Regions from separate parts of the Homo sapiens genome. Here region 2 is linked to region 1. Evidence: promoter capture Hi-C in human tissues and cell types (Jung and others, 2019). All regions are on one chromosome and are shown on one strand. The core of a region is centred on a gene start or on the middle of the fragment in contact, and the rest is flanking DNA. Distances in the headings are between cores, read along the strand shown.

Evidence for each region. Contacts are between HindIII fragments. The study calls those that stand out against the background at their distance.
Region 2: a contact is called between a fragment that was not itself captured here and the fragment with the promoter of MEDAG in region 1, in 1 of the 25 tissues and cell types used here (mesendoderm cells).

What each region holds. Positions count from the first base shown.
Region 1 is chr13:30,903,774-30,910,261 of GRCh38, forward strand. MEDAG (mesenteric estrogen dependent adipogenesis) reads left to right here and starts at 2,498. Exons shown (of 5, transcript NM_032849.4): 1 at 2,498-3,020. The coding sequence starts at 2,743. The region is part of intron 2 of TEX26-AS1 (TEX26 antisense RNA 1); the gene reads right to left. RefSeq lists an enhancer at 3,099-3,600. The HindIII fragment of the contact is 12,319 bases long and covers 1-6,488 here.
Region 2 is chr13:30,866,283-30,872,770 of GRCh38, forward strand. No RefSeq gene overlaps it. Among named protein-coding and RNA genes, the nearest start is that of LINC00545, 13 kb to the right of the region's middle. RefSeq lists enhancers at 4,768-5,577, 5,578-6,387, 5,944-5,993. The HindIII fragment of the contact is 6,914 bases long and covers 1-6,478 here.

The DNA.
Region 1 (6,488 bases), core at 1,248-3,747:
TGAACATAGCAGATGCTCAATTAACATATGTTGAAGTAAACTAAAGGCCTGGGTTCAAATTCCTACCCTATCATGTATTAGCTAGATGCCCCCATCCACTTCTTTGGCTTCAACCCCGTCTTTGATCTAGAGACTTTCAAATCTCAATCATTGACCTTGTCTTTCCAAAACGCCAGACCCAACTAACTCCTTGCCTCCTGGACTTTTCTACCTTGATGTTCCATAAGTAGCTCAAAATCAGTATGTCCCCCCTGAACTCATCACTATCTCTCCTCAAACTCCTACTCTTCCTCCTGTGAACCCTAGCTTCGTTAATGGTGTCACCATCTCTCTGGGTACCCAAGCAAGAGACTAAGTGGGTCTCTCTGCTCTTTTTCATTTATTTACTCATAAGATCCTTCCTGCTGACTCTGACTCAAAAATGTTGAAACCTCATCTCCATTCCCACAGCTGCTTCTGTTCAGACCCCCATCATATGTTATCTGGATTATTACATCAATCTCCTAACTGGTTTCTCTGCCTCTGATCTTCCTGTTTCAAAACATCTTCTTTGGTCATAACCAAAGGTGTCTATCTGAACTGAGGCATAATTATATCACTTCCTTTCTTTAAAACATCCCAAGGCTCCTCATTGTCTTAAGAATCCAAATTCCTGACAACTCAGAGGGTCTGTCACAATCTGGCTCCAACAGCCCTTTCTGGTCTCATCTCATATAAAACTGACCCCTCTTATCCCAAATAGGATGGTCTGCCCTAGCTGTTTAAAAATTTCCCCCCTCCCCCAGATGGAACCATAGCATCTCTCTTTGCATAGAATGGTACAGAATCTTCTCTCCCATCTCCTTATTGCTGCTGCTCCTTCCCCTGGGAGCCTCCCCTGTGTATTGGAAGTCTAGCCATGTGTCACCTCCTTTGAGCACCCTTCTTGGGGCAGAACCACTTATTTCTCATAGTGCTTAGTCCATACATCTATGGTAGCACTTATTGGATCCTTGTGTGTGTGTGTGTGTGACCTCAGAGCTTAAGATGGTCCCTGGTGCATAGTGATGACTCTGTCAATGTTTGGGACAAGAGTGAAGTTCTAAATAGGGCACAATGGATTTAACTGCTGGCACCAAATCCCTCCCCTGTGAAAACAGCCCCAGCCTCTGAGTCCTGTCTACAGTCTCAGCCCACCCCAGACCCATTCTCTTTGCAGGGATCCTCAAACCTCCCTTTGCAAGAAGATCTTCTGGATGCTTTTTTCACAGGTAGAGCATCCTTCCTGCGCCACAAAAGGTTGAGTGGGTAGTGATCAATTCATGCTCAGTGAATTAGATTTGTTCAGAGAGGCCCAGAGATGGGGTAATGATCCCATGGGTAAAAGATCCATGTCTGGAGAAAGGATAGGTGTGCACCTAGAAGAAGAGAAGAGAGTGGGGCTCATTTATATTCTGAGATTTAAATGAGATGTGGCGGGAGGACTCTTCATCCCATCTGATTAAACCTACACAAGAGTTCATGTGGGGGCACACAAAGACTAACTAAGGATATTCTCTACGTTCTACTCAACTTTTGGGATGTAGCTTAGAATCCTAAAACACAGTACTACAGAAAGCCTCGAAACTAGGCTAGATTCTCCTCCCATCCCATCCAGGCTTCTCCGCAGCAGAAATAGGTGTTTAATTAAATGGAATAATATAGTTCTCCTTTCATACCTCAGGAGATCAATGAGCCCATAGCTAGCACTCACATATTTATAGACTGAAGAAATGAACATATTCTGGGGCTCAAGGAGATCACCACCTACTGGGGAGGCAGGGGAGAAGGGAGGATGCTAGGACCCTGCTATCCCCACTACACGGCACATTGCAGTCTAGGGTTCACCGTGCAGTAGAAAGGAGAAGCAAAGCGATGAAACCCTCGTGGGATTCGTGAAGGCTTTATGGAAAAGCGATGTGATGATCAGTGGGATTTCTAGGGGGAAGGGATCCAGGGCCAGCAACCAGCTGAAGGAAAGGCTGAAAGGAGGGAAATGCAGGGTACGATCTGGATGGAGTTAAAATGGCAGAAAACTGAGGCTGAGTGAGAGGTCTGGTACTGAGGTGGGGATCGGAGTTCCAGCACTGGCCTTTGACAGCCTCTGGGTCCCAGGTGGAATGGGTAGGGCCAGAGCCCTTGCCTTCTTCTCCAATCAACACCAGGGGTGTGGTGTCTTAGGCAAGGATGGGTGCTGTGCGCCCTGCCGCCCACCATAGGCAGGGCCTGGGAACCCGGGGAGGACTCTCCCCACCTCCAGCCTCCGGCAGTGTCCGCCAGGCAGGGCGGGGGCCAGCGCTGGTGTTGAGTAGTGGACCCCAGGGGGATGACTAAGCCTTGCCTGCGAGCAGACTCGAGCATGCCAAGTTATGAGACGATGATAACTCTGCCCCGAGCCTCTGGGGTCGTGGCCGTGGGCCGGCAGGGGCGAGGCGGGCGTCCAGAGGGCGGATAAAAGGGGCCGCGCTGCGCCGGGGCCGCTTTCTCCGCGCGGTGCCTGCAGGGCTCCCAGCGAGTGGCAGCTTGGGAGGGGCCGCCCGGGCGGTCAGACTGGCACCTGAGCGGCCACCGCGTCCCGGCCAGGCGGGCAGACCGACCCCCTCCTCACCTCGCGCGCGGCTGACGCAGGCAGGGCGCCCGGCCCCTCCTGGGGACCATCAGGTGCCGGCTGGGGGCTGTAGGCACCGGACGGAAGCAGGCGGTGTGAGGACCGACGACGCGGGCATGGCGGGGGCGGCCTGCGAGCCGGTGGCCAGGCCGAGCCTGACCTCCATCTCGTCTGGGGAGCTTCGCAGCCTGTGGACCTGCGACTGCGAGCTGGCCCTGCTGCCGCTGGCTCAGCTGCTGCGCCTGCAGCCCGGTGCCTTCCAGCTGAGCGGCGACCAGCTCGTGGTGGCCAGGCCCGGGGAGCCGGCGGCGGCGCGGGGGGGCTTCAACGTCTTCGGTGACGGCCTCGTGCGCCTCGACGGGCAGCTCTACCGCCTCAGCAGCTACATCAAGAGGTGGGTGGCCTCGCCGTGCGCCCTGGCCCGTCGCCTGGTACCCGCAGACGCCTCCACCCGGCTGCGGTCTCTGGGAGCCTGGGCTGTCCTCGCTGCCTGCGACACCGCGTGGCCCCTTGCTCCGTGCGCTTCTAGACTTTCCTTCTGCTTCTATCACCCGGAGCCTGCACGCTCGCCCTGGTTCTTCTGCCTCTTGCACTGACATTTTGCAGCTGCTGCTTGAAGCCGCCCAGAAGGGCATCAGGACTGGGGGCGAGGGGGAGGGCAGGGGCCCCCCAGCCAGAGCTCATGAGTGGCAGATGCTTCTCCCATTCTGGCTCCTTAACTGGGTCAGATGAGCTCAAATTGGGAGCACACCCTTTAGGGGCTGTCTGCAGCTCTGCAAGACTCACATCCTGGCTTTGGAGCATGGGTGGCGGTGAGGAGCAGGGGGCATGCACCATTCTGAGCACTGCCAGCCCTCTCCAGTGAGGAGACCGAGTGGAGAAGCATGCAAAAGCTCAAAGTTTCCCATCTCTGGCCTCACTTCGTGTTTCAAAAGTAAACAAATAAACCGCAGCTGAGAAGGGAACAAAGCCCCTGGAAGTCCAGCCCGGGGCCATGTGGGCTGTGGAAGGCACAGATAAGTTCTGGGGAAATAAGTGCGAAACCTGAGGGCCTTAATGGGAAGGAGGCCCCCAGGATGCTTGACTGTTGTGGCCAGAGTGCCCCCAAGCTCTTCTTGGCAGACCGGCAGGATGTGGCCCAGCCATCTGAAGCAGGCTTTGGTGCCACAGGGTAAAGGAGGGCACTTCAGGCCTGATTCCACATGGCCTCAGGCCTCCAGAGTTCACTCTTGGCAAGGGCCTGGAGTGCAAAGACCTGTTATATTTGTGCTGAGAGAGCCAAGTGCCTGAAGAGGCAAGCATGGTCTAGAGTTTGACTCAGAAATGAATAAGATAGCCAGCTTTTGAGACACAGCGCCTTTGCTACTGGGAAAGACAGCGTGCTGTGGCACCCTGTGGGTAGGAGGGAGCCAAGAGAGGGAAGCAAACAAAATGAGATATTGAACGTGCAGTCTTCAAAACTCTTGGAGAAAAAACCTTGCTTTTCCAAAGATAGTGAGGGCTCTGAATGCCTGAAGAACCATTCCCCAGCAAGAATTTCTCCCTTTCTTAGTGAAATGAAAATTCCAATTCCAAACCATAAGCGGAGGACTGTGGGAGGAACTGAGTCAGATGTGTGCAGATTTAAAAAGAAGATACCCATTGTATTTGAGAGCAGGGTATGAAAAATAAAAATGTCCAGAATGAACGAAGCCGTAAGTTAGGGTTTTGACAGAACCAGTTCTCCTAATTGTAGCAAACAGTGCTGCAGAATCTGAAATGATTTTGAAGTCTGTCATCTAACTTTTGCTTTGAACACCTCCTACACAAAAGAAAATTAAACAACAGTGATTCCCCTGACAGCTTTGAATCTAGAATAAACAACTGGGCCACAGTGACCAGGTAACACAGACCAGGGTGCAAATACAAAACAACAAATAATAGGCTATCATTGTATAAGCAATACTGTGAGGGCTTCTTTTGTACCTGGGAAATAGCAAGGAGCCTCTGAAAATAATTTGGGTGATGGAAGGAGCTATCTATTGTCCTCAGGCAGGGAAGGAGGCTTTTATAACTGAGTGTGCAGTCCTGAAGGATGGCCAGGAGGGAATGTGGTCTAAATGGAGACAGCCTTCCAGGCAGAGGGGGAGGACTGGACTGTGGGCAGCAGTGAGAGGTTCTGCCCTCGGGAATCAGGAGGTGGGAGGTATGCCGAAGCCAGAACTCAGATATCTAAAGCTTCGTTCCTCTGAGCTGCCAAATTTGCCAGTTGTTTTTGGCTTTAGAGATAGCATAAAACCTCCCTCCCTCCCCTCCCTCCCTCCCCACTTCCTTCCCTCTCTCCCTCCCTCCCTCCCTTCCTTCCTTCCTTCTTTTTGAAAAATAAGCTCTGGCCAGTTTTATTAAAGATTTGCATGATTTATTTTCACCAGTCTGTTCTGGCATGCTTCCAAAGATCTCAGGGCTGGGTGCAGTGCCTCATGCCTGTAATCCCAGCACTTTGGGAGGCTGAGGTGGGCGGATTGCTTGAGTCCAGGACTTCGAGGCCAGCTTGGGCAACATAGTGAGACCTCCTGTCTACAAAAATTAGCTGGGCATAGTGACATGCACCTGTGGTCCCAGCTGCTCAGGAGGCCGAGGTGGGAGGTGGATGGCTTGAATCTTGGAGGTGGAGCTTGCAGTGAGCCGAGATGGTGCCACTGCACTCCAGCCTAGGCAACACAGTGAGACCCTGTCTCAAAAAAAAAAAAAAAAAAAAAAAATCTCAGCATTCCCTGGATCAGTGACACCAGGGTGCACTTGCTATGGTATTTTCCACATGCTGTGCCCAATTTAATGTTATTACTGCTGGAGTGGTAGATGGCAGTTTTGAGAGTATGCACCTTAGTTCTGTATTTCAGATTTCCTCGAGGCCAGGCAGTTGGTGGGGATGACCGGTTTCACTTTGCCTTGTCTATCATCTTCAGAGCCGGATTGCCCCAGCTTGTATTTTTGACCCTTAATGGGTTGGAGCCTAGAGTGGATGGACTCCAGTGACTTTTCGTCTTCTTTGCGGCCACCATATTCTGGCCTTGGATGTGGGATGGCCTCTAACCAAAAGCAGCCACCAAGATGGCCAGGGATCCCAAAAGGCAAAATGGTTCTTAATCATTTTGGACCATAGAACTTTTGAGAATTCTACGTAGATTCCCCAGAAATGTAAATATATACCCAATTTTTGCTGACCATCCAGGATGTTCATGAGATACTTGGACCCAGGTTAAGAATCCTTGCTCTATTAATTAATTAGTTCTTTTTAACTCAACAAATATTTTTGGCATATGGGATAAGCCCCTGGTGTAATTAGAATTTCTTTCTGGGACCTCATAAGTATGTACTGTGGCTTTCATGAGGCCCTTTTCCAAGGAACCCCGAAAGGCTAAGAGCCACCGACCTTGACTTTCAGGTTATTCACTCGCTAAGAGAGCAACAGGATGATTTTAGCAGCCCTACTTAGGTTCATTTTCTAATACTTTAACATTTTTTCTAAGTACATACCTACTAAGTAACCTAAAGAAATCCAGCATAGTGGGAAGGTTTAGTGATGACCACCAGCTCTAAAGCTCCTTCAAAAACCTACTTTAAAAATATTTGTCCTATTTTGTAGGATTTATGGCAAGATCTTTATTTTTATTATTTTCTTTCAAGATCAGGATTTTCGCCCATGTTGTAAACACAATGTGCTCAGGACACGAGATGTGGGTAATGGTCATTCAGGGAGCCATTCATTCAATACTTAAAAGTCAAAATTACCATTAACTACGACACACACACAAACACACACACACACACACACACACATGTTTTTTCCTATAAAGCAGCCTCTTGGTGAAATATAATGGCA
Region 2 (6,488 bases), core at 1,772-4,271, 37 kb before region 1:
AAGGCCAGTGCACTGAGATCTGCACCTCCAGCACTTTCAGTGTAGGGCGAGACAGGTTTAGAAGGAATTGGGCTTCTCTAAGATTGAAGCTAAACCAGAAGCTAATGGGTTAGTAATTTAATAGGTCTCCCTTTTCGGCAATATTTTCATTTTAAAAAGAAAACTTCTGTTAGAGGGCAAGTAATTCCAAAGAAATTAGATTCTGCTGGTTGAAACGTTAAGAATCCAGGCAGGCGGTGAGGGAAATTCGTTTCCCGGCTTCTCCAATCTAATCTGATAGTGCCCGTCTTGCCTCAGTCGTTAATACTTCTTGGGAAAAAGCATATGTGATCACTCTTTTAAAAACTGTTAGAATCACTTTCCTATCCAAGGTCTGAAAGAAGATTTGGGCTTAGGCTCCATTTGAAGAAATCCAGGTTGTATTTCCCCCAGCATTTAGGGTTTGATGGTTTCTGCTTATCTAAAGTGCTCACATTGCAAATATGAGCAGCAGGGCTGGGGATTTAAATTCTGTCTTGATGGGAATTTGAACTGAAATGCTCTGCCCACTGCCACTTTATAAGCTGGGAATCATCAAGCTAGCTACAAATACCTCGAGGGGTCCTTGCAGTTGCTCAACATAAATCAGCAAAATGACAGGCAATTGACTTTGAAGACAGCGCTCACATGGCTGAGTGGCTGGAGCTGCTGGAAGCAGATGAGGGCATTTTCCTGTAAACATGATTGTGATTAGCACCAGAGTAAATAGCGAATCGGGCTCTATCTGTCAGACTCCAGCCTGCTCTGGATTTTTCATTAGGTAGAAATCAACATGTGACTCAGTGCAGCAAAGTTGGCAATTATAAGAAATAAGTTTCTATTTCAACACCTGGTGAATACTTCTGATTTTCCTAGAAGGTAAGCAAGAAGGAAAGTTGATTTTGCCATGTTTTCATGTAGGGATAAAATAGGAGTGTGGGAATCAGTCCTTTCACTGCAAGAGCAATTCAGCTTCTAGTCCGTGCTCTGATGCTATCTAACAAAATGTCTGGCATAGCTCAGATTTTGGCTAAGTGGAAAGGTGCACGTTTGAAAGGTTGACCCTACCAGTGTCATCTGAGGTCACTAATTCATATGCCTAAAGAGCCCAGGAAGGTAACATCAGTAGGTAAGCTGGCTGGAGGGGCTGAGGCCAAGTGGAGTGTGCCGGCCCTGTCCAAGGAGGCAGGCTGACCCTGCTCCAGCATGGACTGTGGCCAACTGGGGCAGAAAGGCTTGGGTTGTCATATCAACTGGTTTTTCAAAAGAAGCCAGAATTTGGGATTTTCATGTAAAACACTGGGAGTTCCAAATCAAACATGTCTACAAACCCAAAAGCATCTAGCCTGTTTGCAACCTAGTATTGGGCTACCTTCATGTTGGATTCCTCCAAACTCATTCTAGCTACATCAGGTCTCTAAGCCATTTCAAAGGATTTCCAGAGAGAGCTTGCATAGACTCCCTTAGCAAGGAAATGAAAAATCTATCAGCTCTCCAGATCTAGAAGGTTTTTTTTAAAAATTCTAATTTAGATCTTTCATGCTGCAACATAAACCACTTCTTTTTATTCTCAATCAATGGAAATGAATCAATGGAAATGATAATCATAACTCACACGGGAATTTTAAACTCAGTTGGCACTGAACAGAAGGAAACCTCTTAAATGATCCGGAGCTCTGTTCTCTCAAAGGTAGCTTGTGCTATAGAGGAGTGAGAGCAGTCGTAACTCTGGTGGGCCTGGTTCAGGTCACCACCTGCTTTGAACCTCAGTTTTCTCCTTATAAAATGGGTTTTCTCCACCTCGTGGGCCCTGTACTGTGAAGAGTGGGTACTGGCTGACTGCAGGAAGATGTTTGTCTCCTCTGGGGTCAGCTCATCTGGCTGGGAATCTCAACACCACCACTTACTCCGTGTGTGACTTTGGGCAAATTTCTTACCCTTTCTAAACCTGGGTGTCCTCATTTCATTTTTTTTTTTCTAAGACAGGGTCTTGCTCTGTCACCCAGGCTGGAGTGCAGTGGTGTGATCACAGCTCACTGCAGTCTTGAACTGTTGGGCTCAAGTGATCCTCCCACCTCAGCCTCTCAAGTAGCTGGGACCACAGGCACATGCCACCACACCTGGCTCATTTTTGAATGTTTTAGGACATGTAGCCCAGGCTGGTCTTGAACTCCTGGGCTCAAGTGATCCTCTTCCCTTGGCCTCCCAAAGTGCTGGGATTACAGGTGTGAGTCACTATGCCCAGCCTGAGTGTCTTTGTGTGTATTTGGTGGGGGTGGGGGGAAAAGTGTCACTCTGTTGCCCAGGCTGGAGTGCAGTGGCGCAATCTCCGCTTACTGCAGCCTCTGCCTCCTGGGTTCAGGGGACTGTCCTGCCTCAGCCTCCAGAGTAGCTGGAATTATAGGTATGCACCATCACGCCTGGCTAATTTTTGTATTTTTGGTAGAGATGGGGTTTCACCATGTTGGTCAGGCTGGGTCTCAAACTCCTGACCTCAAATGATCTGCCCGCCTCAGCCTCCCAAATTGCTGGGCTTACAGGTGTAAGCCACTGTGCCCAGACTGGGTGTCTTCATTTTTAAGGCAGAGGTAAAATAGTGCTTTCTCCATAGCATTGTGGAGAGGAGTAAATGGAAAGCTCTGAGTCAAAAGCTTGGCTCAGACCCCAGCCCTCAGAGGGGCTGGAAGGACTGGGCACAGTGGTGATGATGAGGAGGGAGGAGTCTAGGATGATCCCAGGTTTCTGGGTGACTGGGTGGATGAGGGAGCATTAATAAAGACAGATGATACCAGAGAAAGAACTGGGCTGGGAGACAGGTAATTTCTTCAGTTCAGTTCCTACTGAGTTGAAGTCGCCTCAGAACTTTTCAGGAGGAAAGGCCCAGTTGGAAGTTAAGAAATGGCTTTGAATACTTGGCTGGAAACAGTCTCAGCTGTAAGCAGCTGTGGCAAATGTGCATGTGTTAGGATGCCTGGAGAGAGTGTAGCTTGAGAGGACAAGAAGTGCTAAGAGGACCAAAACTCCAAACTGGGTGTTAAATGCTGAGGCAAGCCAGGAAAGACTGAGATTGTGCATCCTGAGAGGTCGAGGGAAGACCTGCAGAAAGGAGCTTCCTGGAAACCAACAGAGAAATAGAAGATAATGTTTCCATCTTCGACGGCTTTACAATCTGATGAAGGGGCAAAAACAGAAACACATGCAACAACCAAAGGACTTTCTCAAGACAAAATACCAGTGAGGACCAATTAAAGCAGCCCCAAATAGTGTGGATATGCCGGAGGACTTCAGCGAGGAGGAGACACGGGAGGCAGGCAAGGTGCACCACGGGCTGTGGAGAAGACGTACTTGAGCTGGGTTTGCAGGAAGGAATGCATCTGGGCTGGCCAGAGGCAGGGAAAGGGCATCCAGGTCACGGCTGGGCTGGAGACCAAGGTTCTGCAGGGTGGAGTCCACTCCTCCACTGTAGGGTGGAGCAAGCCCTGTTCAGAAATATAGATGGTTTCAGGCAGAAATGTAGAGGCATTTTGCTCTGATGGAGCAAATATTTTCTTCTAAATAGGGACTTTCTTCTCTCGTGTCAATTTTCTTTTTAAAATTTTCCTTTATTATTGGGCTCCATTCCTCAGCTCCTTCTGTCACTCTAGAAGCTCGTTTCCTCCTGCCTCTTCCCTTTGGGTGATATGCACACTCGAATGTCCCCAGTCAGAGGCAGACACTTTCCAGGCTGATTTTAATTCTTTAGGAGCCTGAAAGGTTGGAAAGAGCATGGAATCTGAGCCTAGGGCCCTGGTTGGAGCTGCTGCCAGTTACAAGCTGTGAAACTATAAGCAAATCATGGCATTCCACTGCGGTTGCCTCTGGAATGGAGAGGATGCTACTCTGCTCCTTCAGTCTGTGACGCATGCTATGTGAGGTCATCTAAGGGAAGCCATTAGGGAAACAGTGACAGCACAGGGGTGAGGAGCTCACATAACTCCTTGGCCTACACGGGATTGAGCTTCAGGGGCCACTGTGGGGTCGACGTCAGGGGTTCTGTGGGGTGGTCAGGGGCTCTGTCGGGTGGAGTCAGGAAGTCTGTGGGTGGAATCAGGGGCTCTTAGGGCTGGAGTCAGTGCTGTGGGGTGGAGTCAGGGCTGTGGGTAGAGTCAGGGATCTGTTGGGTGGAGTCAGGAACTCTGTGGGGTGGAGTCAGGGCTCTGTGGGGTGGAGTCAGGGCTCTGTGGGGTGTACTCAGGGCTCTCTGGGGTGAAGTCACGGCTCTGTTGGGTGGAGTCAGGGCTCTGGGTGGAGTCAGAGCTTTGTGGGTGGAGTCGGGGCTCTGTTGGGTGGAGTCAGGGGTTCTGTTTGGTGGAGTCAGGGCTCTGTGAGGTGGAGTCAGGGCTCTGTTGGGTGGAGTCAGGCATTCTGTGGGTGGAGACAGGGCTCTGTGGGTGGAGTCAGGGATTCTGTTGGGTGGAGTCAGGGCTCTGTTAAGTGGAGTCAGGGCTCTGTGGGATGTAGTCAGGGATCTCTGGGGTGAAGTCACGGCTCTGTGGAGTGGAGTCAGAGCTTTGTGGGTGGAGTCAGGAGTTCTGTTGGTTGGAGTCAGGGCTCTGTGAGGTGGACTCAGGGGCACGGAGCTTCTTATCGGAGGCTGTCTGGAGGGAGTCTGTGGTTCTGGCACGGCGATGGTTGTGGGGTAGTGAAGCTGCACTGGGGGCTGGTGCCTGCTTGCTGACTGATGAGCATTCTGGGGACTGACGTGGGGAGCAAAAGCCTACCTCTCTCTCTACCTGTTTAAGGCCCACGACATGGCTACAGAGTGGAGAAGGTGCGAAGGCCAACCTCCCTTCTGAGAGGACAGCGGGGGCCTGGGCATGTCGGCCCGGTGCTCCTTGAATCTCAGGAGAAAAGGCCTAGGACGCAGAGGGATGGTGGATGCTGGGTCCTGGCAGGTGGATAGAGGGAACCGAGACGGGTAGAAATTCCTGGAAAATGAAGAGAGCGCTATTTCAGAGGGGGAACATCTCTGAATCAGAGGAGGCAGCTGCTGACTTTTGCTGAAAGGGAAAGGAACCTTCAGGACAGCGGTGGTGGCATCAGCTGGGCCGCCTAGGGCTCCGCAGCCCTAAGCCTGCACCGGCCCTGTCCTTCCCTTGGGGCGACGGGACCTCCCCGCAGGGCCCTGCGCATGGGGACTGGGGCATGGGACAGGGCTCCGCAGAGAAGACCTGCCTGAGCCGGGCAGCTGGGCCCACCAAGGCCGCCAGACAGCCCAAACCCTTCCCAGGCTGCAGGGAGGCCCCAGCTGGTGTGGCCTCAAACCGGCATCTGTTTCTTCACTCCTGGGGCTCCCTTTGAACTTGAACCTTGCAAAGCCCAAGTAACAATAAAAAAGCCAAGGAACAGGTGCTGCTGCAGAGGACGGAGGACAGGCCGGCTGGGAGCCTCAGGGGGTGTCGCCTTTGTTTCAGCGCCTTCAGTCTCCCCGCTTCCGCATGAAACTGCTCGGGACCCACGTCAGCGCCAAGTTCCAACAAGGAAAATATAGCAGCGCACAATATGTTGTTTTGGCAGAAAGCTATGAATTTTAGTATGGAATGTCTGTCACAGGGCCCATCCAATTAACTCACTTGTCGAGAAATCAGAATAAATAGTTGAGAGGAGGCGACTGCAGCTTTGCTCAGACCTTTATTTCTCATTTGTTTTCATGGTTAAGCAGGTCTGCAGTCACCAGGATGTATATTTAGGGCAGGGAAGGAGAGAATACGCATCTTCACGGTGGTTCTCCCTTTGGAGGGAAAGAAGGGTATTTTCTATGCATTTTGGAGGAGGGAATTCTGGTGAGCTTCTGTTTTAGAAAAGTGTTATGGAGGCAACCCTGGCAAACTCCCTCGAGTTTTGGACTCAGTGCTGTTGAGTCTGAGACAAGGACTGGGCCCTACCAGAGAAGTTTCTCTTCCTCCTTAGGTTATCCACGGTGGCTGGTGAGCATGGCTGTGCCGGGTGAGTGGGTGGGCAGCCCAACCTGACCCCACATCTCAGCCTGGGCCGAGCTTCCTGACGGGGAGGACACCGGGTGCTCTGGGTTAGCAATGGCAGCTGGCACTTGGGGGTGCTGGCATCCCTCCCAGGGTGCCTGCCATGCCCAGAAACTTAAACATTTGTGTGGACTCCCTGTAAGAAGCCCTGCTGCATAGTTGAGGCCCTTGGGAAAGAAGCACCTCAGCTATTCAGCAACGGGGCTTCTTTACGAGGGCACCGGCCATGCTTGTGCTTGTCCTGTGTGAATTCCCAGGGGCAGGAGCTCATTGCAGCCCCGGGCAGGGTGCTCTCCTTGTTCCACAAATTGCCAATTATGATTTACAGACATTCAGCGGATAAAACTCTGGGCAGAGAGTGACTCTTTTCTTTGAGGAGTCTTCTTGTGGCTCTCTGAATTTAGAGCCTTGCTACAGCAGAGATGAAACCCAAAGCCGGTTTATAACACC